Regions from separate parts of the Homo sapiens genome. Here region 1 is linked to region 2. Evidence: promoter capture Hi-C in 16 types of primary human blood cells and fetal thymus (Javierre and others, 2016). All regions are on one chromosome and are shown on one strand. Each heading gives the region's core, a stretch centred on a gene start or on the middle of the fragment in contact. The rest is flanking DNA. Distances are from core to core; before and after follow the strand shown. Region 1 overlaps SMAP1 (small ArfGAP 1). Region 2 holds the start of LMBRD1 (LMBR1 domain containing 1).

Evidence for each region. Contacts are between HindIII fragments. The CHiCAGO score rates a contact against its expected background, and 5 or more counts as called.
Region 1: a fragment that was not itself captured here is called in contact with the fragment with the promoter of LMBRD1 in region 2 in 2 of 17 cell types (total CD4 T cells and neutrophils); the score reaches 5.4 in total CD4 T cells.

What each region holds. Positions count from the first base shown.
Region 1 is chr6:70,668,456-70,672,456 of GRCh38, reverse strand. The region is part of intron 1 of SMAP1 (small ArfGAP 1); the gene reads right to left. Among named protein-coding and RNA genes, the nearest start is that of SMAP1, 2.6 kb to the right of the region's middle. RefSeq lists a silencer at 3,833-3,892. The HindIII fragment of the contact is 1,454 bases long and covers 1,722-3,175 here.
Region 2 is chr6:69,794,731-69,798,513 of GRCh38, reverse strand. It overlaps LMBRD1 (LMBR1 domain containing 1), which reads left to right and starts at 1,504. Exons shown (of 16, transcript NM_018368.4): 1 at 1,504-1,701. The coding sequence starts at 1,633. RefSeq lists enhancers at 1,583-1,812, 1,441-1,996, 2,123-2,172, 1,997-2,553. The HindIII fragment of the contact is 19,066 bases long and covers 1-3,783 here.

The sequences.
Region 1 (4,001 bases), core at 1,199-3,698, 870 kb before region 2:
AATCTCAGAGGATCAAGGAGAATTATTTCCCTTGAAAAGACATTTAAGCAGGAATTGAAAGATGAGCAAAAGCTGAGCAGGCAAAAACTTGTTAGAAAGCTTCCCAGGCAGAAGAACAGCACGTGCAAAGGTCTTGAAACAGCATTCTAGGAACTGTAAAGACCACCAATGGGCAAAAGTCAAGGTGCAAGGGGAACAACAGCCCAAAATAAGTATAGAGGTAGTTATTTCTTAAAACCATTATTACAAGCACTTAGCACATCGTTTTAGAATCATTTATTTGCAAAAACACAACCCACACTAAACAAACTCCTTTAGGTCTTACAAATTTTTTTAGCTCTCTTACCTAATACAATATCTAACAGTGTGTCTTCAAGTCAAGATCTGCGGAACAAAGAAACGAGTGTTTGATCTCAGCAATGAGCTTACCCTCTCAATATCAGACAGGCTAAACAAAACAATCTCTAGAGTTAAAAAACCTTATGTTTCTGACTACCCAAAATTGAATGGGCAAGAGACTCACTTTCATACCAATTTAAACATGCTCAAAATCAAACCTAGCAAAAGATGGAAACAGACCAAATGTTCATCAATAGACGGATAAATTGTGGTCTATCCATACAATGGAATATTATTCAGCCATAAAAGGAGTGAGGTACCGACACATGCTACAAAATGAATGAACTTTGAAAACATATGAAGTCAAAGTCAGAAACAAAAGTTCATATGTTGTATTATATTAAATATCCAGAACAGCCAAACCTACAGAGATAGAACATGCAATAGTGTCTGCCAAGGGCTGGGGAGAGGGGATAGTGGGAAGAAACCGCTCAATGTGAATTTTATCTATATGTTTTGTTTTTGTTTTTGTTTTTCCCTGAGACGGAGTCTTGTTCTGTCACCCAGGCTGGAGTACAGTGGCGCGATCTCGGCTCACTGCAACCTCCGCCTCTCCGCCTCCCAGGTTCAAGCAATTCTCTTGCCTCCGCCTCCCACGTAGGGATTACAGGTGCCTGCCACCATGCCTGGCTAATGGTTTTTGTATTTTTAGTGGAGACGGGGTTTCACTATGTTGGCCAGGCTGGTCTTGAATGCACTTTTAAAATCTCAGAAATATACATTAACAAGCATGGGACATGTCAATGTGGTACCTGCCAAGCCCAGCGATGTTTTCTAGGAGCCCTACTCAGCCAAGTTCAGGCTACTCCTGATGTCCAACACAAGATGCCCTATTCAGAGCATGTGAAAGAATAGAGAAGTGAAAAAAAAAAACAAAAATCAAAGCTAGAATTACCTGTAGATAACACTTTAAATACTGAAAACTAAACTTGAAGCTGGCAAGGCATTCCCAGTCCTCACTGCTCCCTAAAGTGCCACCAACTAATAACCAACAAGAGCTGCTTTAAACTCCCACTGAGTCATGAATGCAGCTAGGAGAGAGGAGGAGTAGTTCCATCTGCCTGTTCTTAAATTCTCCAGTTGTTCAACAGATTTGGTAAGAGCAGGATCAAGAGCAGGAAACTGGCGCCTATGCCATCCTTTTCTCCTTCGTTGCTTCCTAAATACTGTCAATCCAGGAAACACAGCTGGTGATTCAGTAAGAAAATGTCAAAACCCAATTGACATACCTCTACCAACTATGATAAGGCAAGATAATACAGGCACCTCAAATCCTAAGCTTTAGTTTTGGTACATATTCTCAAAGATCAGTGGAAGAAGCTTCTTTGAAAGAAAGAAAATTGAGTTAACTAGGAAATAACTTTGAAATACAGTACATGAAAAGTTTGATGCAATTTACTAGACAGTGAAGAAAACATCAATACATACACAGAATGAAACTTCTTAGTAACTGAGCTGTAGAGTAAGACCTTTAACATATCTTTTAAAAGTACTATATTTATTATGTCATCCTAGCATATAGATCCAAAATCATGTAACAAGCCAAGAATTCTACTAAAAAAGCCTCCATAATGTACTTCAACCTTACCAAATACTCAAAAACTGTGAAAATATATTTACATCAATTGCTCTATCATGTCGAATTTTTCAATTATTACAACCATGAAATCAAGTCTAATTAAATCAATAAGTGGCCTTACCTGTGATTTTTTGCCTGAAAGATCAAGATAAAACAATGAAATTATTTACAAGATCATTTTAATATTCTTCTAGATTTAGTAGCAACAAGAAAAAAATAATCCTTGTAAATTATACTGTGGAGTTCATGCCCTTCAAGCTGCACCCTTGTACTCTTGATACCATTCTCTTCTCTCCCACTTCCTTCACTTCTCAAAACAAGTAAACCAACAAAAGGCCAGACAAAACCAAAATACAAAAGACATTCATTCAATATATATCTACTGATTTCCGTGGCAATACAAACACTGAGCAAAACGAATACTTCCTATTCTTCAGGTCCAAAGAAGTAAAACTTTTGATCCTAATTTAAGAAGTACATGATTCTCTTCTCCCCACCTCAAAAGAGTAAATAAAAAAAAAAAAAGTTAACATGGTTAATAATGGCTTTTAAAAATCTGTATTATTTTAGAAAGCATTAGTGAAAATCTGATTTTATAAAGTACTTTTTTGGAGACAGAAATTTGAACAAAAATTAAATTATTTTTAATAAAGTCTGTAGATGAAGGAAGGTTAATTCTGAAACTGTTACTATTCGACTTTTAATGAACAGATTTAATATTTACCAGCATCTCTACTTAACCATGTTATTACTCAAAATGACAAAATGTGTACTATTTAGCTTCAGCTTCTTTCTTCTTCTTGGCCTTTTAAAGGACCATTTTTCAGTGTTTTGCTAGTGCAGTCAATGAGCAAGCAACTGAGCCTAAACACAGTGCAGAACTCCCAAATAACCACACACAATCAAGTTACTAGGAAAACAAGTATTACAAGAACCAGGCACGGACTTTGTAAAAACTCATCACCTGAAAAGGTTACATAGGATAAATATAATCTTGACTCAATCAAGTTACTATATTGAAAAGTGCTTCATAAAAATAATCTAGTTACAGTATTCCCGCATGATTCTTCTAGTAATTCAGTACCTGTTACGACAGTGAAGTAACCTGCTGATGCTGTGTGGCTCAGTCTAGTCAAATATTATCAGCCTACTGAAATGTGACTCATTTATATAGTATTGAGATAGAACAGTAAAGCTTCAGGAAAAGTCTAAGTCAAATAACACAGAAATCTTAAAGGACATTCCCCAAAGAGACTGTCTCCTGCTTTAGAGAACTACCCTATTTCTCACCCAATAACGAAATAAACCAATTAAAAATATACACGATCTTTTCTTAACTACACAAGACATTTCTTTAAAAAAAAAAGAAATATTTCCCTTGAGATTACTTACAAGACATTAAACATAAATCAGATCTCCAAACACAAAACATAGCAGCTAAAAATAGTATATCTGTTTCAAAGGCTGAGGCAGAAGCCCTCCAACCGAAAAAACTAAAATTAGGTTTTTTCCATCTCTAGATCTTTAAAATGAACCTTCAGCATTTATGAGGTACACAAATCAGTGTCCACATATTCTCCCAAACTAGCTGGTCAGAGAAAACCTAATTACTAAAATCTTCAGAAATACAAACCCACCGTCCTCCAAGAGACTCATGTAATGAAATTCCTCTTCATTCTGGCTAATAACCAGACTAAAAAACAATACTACTACTAATAAAGACCTTTCTCCAATTAATTTATTCCGTAAAACTCAAACCCACCGAAAAAGACCACCATACTCTTTTTCAGGAAGCAGAGATAAAAGCCTTGTACAAAAGCTGTCAGGTGGGCAGGCAGGTAGGGCTCCATCTAGGAGACCAAGAATCCGAGCCCGGAGTGGGAGGACGTGGTCACACCGGAGGGTAGAGGAGGGGATCCAGACCTAAGCGCGGCCCCACCCACAGAGATAGCTATGAGCAGAGCTAGGAGGGCAACTCTCTAACCCTAAGCTCTGCCCAGACCCGTGCCCGGTTCCGCGCTCC
Region 2 (3,783 bases), core at 255-2,754:
TGTCAAGGGTGCTCTATACAATCTGGAATAGAGATATCAACCTGGAAGCGATACCTCTCTTCACTTTAAGGAAGCTATGACAGAGGTCTCCAGGGATATGAATTATTAGGAAGAAAGAGTGAAATTCAAACATTTGCAGGTCTAGAGGGCTTAAAGCCAGCTTATGATGGTACCAGTTCAAGTTAAAACTGTATTCTCCCCTATTCCCTTCTTATTCTGTCCAGGCAGGAAGGACCATCCTATTTTTTCCCTCAGGCTTCCAGCCGGAAGTAGATTATAGGTAGAGCATAACTCATCACCACATAATACATTGGAAAAAGATGATGGTATTTTTTCTCAGAGTTGTTTCTTGACTACATCACAGTGGTGAAACATGCACTCACACCCCTGTGGACTCAGGTAAGCCATCCCAAGAGTTTCCTCCCTGTGGACTCAGGTAAGCCATCCCAAGAGTTTCCTCCTTCTTCTTCATTGTGGGCCTATGGCAGTGTGTTTTGTTTGCTGATGCATATACCTTTACATACAAAGCTATCATGGAAATTCACAGGCATGCATACATCTGAATAGAAAGGCTATAACATCATGTGATAAGTTCATGTCCAGCCAACCAGTTATCCCGGCTGGGCACCAGTGCCAGTAAATTAGAGTGATTTGGGCAGCTAGTCAACTTTTATTCAGAGTCAGCTGTCTCATGCGTCCGTGTGAAGAGACCACCAAACAGGCTTTGTGTGAGCAACATGGCTGTTTATTTCACATGGGTGCAGGCGGGCTGAGTCCGAAAAGAGAGTCGGCAAAGGGTGGTGGGATTATCATTGGTTCTTACAGTTTTTCGGATAGGAGGTGGAGTGAAGAGCAATGTTTTGGGGGTAGGGGGTAGATCTCACAAAGTACATTCTCAAGGGTGGGGAGAATTACAAAGAAACTTCTTAAGGGTGGGGGAGATTATAAAGAACATTGATCAGTTAGGGTGGGGCAGAAACAAATCACAATGGTGGAATGTCATCAGCTAAGCTATTTTCACTTCTGTGGATCTTCAGTTGCTTCAGGCCAGCTGGATGTATACGTGAAGGTCACTGGGGATATGATGGCTTAGCTTGGGCTCAGAGGCCTGACATCAGCCATTCTTGCAACCTGGTAAGGAGTTCTGCTAATCACACACATTCCACCTTGTACACGAGGGCCAAACTTCCTTTTGGTGAAGAAGTATAAACCTCTAAAATTGACTTGGATCTCCAGGTCCACCTAGCCCATTCTTTGTGGAGTTCCCTTGCTGTTCTAGTCTATCAACTTAGGCTGAGTCAAATATCTCAATAGGTTGCCCAGCTATGAGCCAACACCCTGCTCTGCAGCCCTCCCACATCTCAGCTTGCAGGGAAGCCAGCGAGGGCAGCGTGGTGATGTCACTGCGTCCGCACGCGCCCCGCCCCTGAGCAGTCCTTGCTGCCCCGCCCCCGCTCGGCTCGCCGCCAGGGGACGCTAGTGGGTCCAGTCTCCTTGGCAACCACTTGCTCCTCCCCCTCCGCCCCTTTAACCTTTAGGGTGCGCGGGTGCAGTATATCTCGCGCTCTCTCCCCTTTCCCCCTCCCCTTTCCCCACCCCGGGCGCTCAGGTTGGTCTGGACCGGAAGCGAAGATGGCGACTTCTGGCGCGGCCTCGGCGGAGCTGGTGATCGGCTGGTGCATATTCGGCCTCTTACTACTGGTAGGGGAGGCGCTTGGAGTTTTCCCCATGTTTGGACTGGGGGAGGAAGGGAGGGGCAGGCCCTGCAGTTGGCCTCTCCGGGCCCCGGAGACCCTCTTCGCCCCGCCCCGCTTTTAGCTTGGACTGTGGAGGGCTCCTTAGTGTTGGGGGCTTGGGCGGGCGGCGGGGGCAGGGGGGTGTCGATTTCCGGTCTCTTTTGCTGTCATTTCACCGATGACGTCTAGGGTTGCAGGGTCCTTTTTGGAAGCTCTTGCCGTCATCGCTGACTTGGGCAATGGGGCCGGTGGGGTTTGGGGGCGGAAGAGACCCTCGGGGTTGAGAAGTATGTGGTGGCCTTTCGTCCCCTGTAAAACATTGTCACACGGTGTGGGGCGGCAGCGCTGGATCTTTGCAAGTTAAGTAGGCGCTGGCGTTGTTTACTTGTCACCTTCTCTGTATGTTTTTTCCCTCATTTTCCCTACCCTTGGGGCTAGTGAGTCTCCAACCTCTGTGCCCATTGTGTGATTCTGCCTTGATGACGTGAGTTGCTCGTTCTGACTTCCAGGTGTCACATTCTCTTCTAATCTTTTTTTGATTGGTGTAGATACCTGTGGAGGGCGGAGCTGTAGCCCTCTTTATTACCAGTATCGGAGTATATACTACTACCTGTCTGACCTCAGGTGCTTTCTTTTCCAACGATCTTATTTCTGCATATTCAGTGAGCAAAGTGTAGATAGAAATGTCTCAGAGTGGCCTGGCTATTACTTCCCTGTTCATATTAAAACCCTTTGGTTTATTTGGGAGTTCAATTTATTTCCTTTCATAACTTCTCTACCTTCTCAAATCTTCTCTTTTCTCATCGTCCGAGGCTGTAGTTACTTTCTGTTCTCACGTATTTTGACCTTTTTGCATTGCAAAACAAAAACCTCCAGTTCTGGAAATCAGGCTTGTTTGGTTTTACTTTAATTGTCAGATCCAGTTGGTGTCTGGTACCTATGTAGTATGTTCTAGTAGATTTTTGCAGTAGAGACTAAAAAAAGAAAATAAAAGAAAAGAATGGTGTGAAAATTTAAGAAAAGGATCCTCTTGTTACTGCCATCACTGTCACAGATAAAAACACTGCCTTTACCCTGGAACATGTTAGTCCTCTCTTGGAGGAAATGAAACCCTAAAGGTTGACTGTGGTCTCTGCAGCCACCCAGTCCTGTATTTGGAGAGCCCCCTGGCTTTTCCAGTCCATCAGATTTAGTTTGTTTAGAAAAAAATAAATAAGCATGTAATGTATGAAAGTTACGTGAGACTATCTTGGCAGTTATAAATTAATAAACATTTACGGTACAGAAGTGGTGTGAATTGTAAGAGGATGTAAACCAAACAAAATACGGCTTTAAAGAGGGCCTGAAGATAAGTGAGAAAACTGAAATTCTTGAAACATGTATTTTATGGACCGAAAGCCAAAGTGTGACTATAAATAAAGCAGGACTTAAGAGAATAGACAACAATATTGGAAGAAAATGAGAATTGTGGTAGAGTTTGGATAGATGAAGAAGAGAGGCCATTTAAGTTGGCAATATTACAGCAAGGACAAATAAAATCAGAATTGAATGTTGTCGTGGATAAAAGCATTAGGAAGAAGGACTTTTGTTTAAATTTCTGCAAATCTCTTTAAATCCTGGTTTATTAGAAGAAAGGCTGGTTTCTTTTGTTGCCTTCTACATTCAGTCTTTTGGGGTATGTTATTTTAGTCGAAGTGTATGGAGAAAATACAGCTGCAATGATAGGTAGTCAGAAACAGAGGAGCGTTTTTCAGATAATTGTGGATGTTTTTTGACACTACACCAAAGCTCAACAAGTGGAAGATTCATGTCAGCTGCAAGGTGGAATCTGAAACCCTATCAATGAGCATTTCATTCATTGTTACATTAAAATCCATTAGCCCATCTTGCACTTTGAAAGGCTCTTTTACCCATGCATGGTTTTATAACATGATGCCATGGCCACTTAGAAAATGTTGGTTTACTGAGTTATGCACATCTTTTAAATATGGATACGTTTCATTACACAATATCAAAATATCACATTTCATTAAATTACAACTGATCT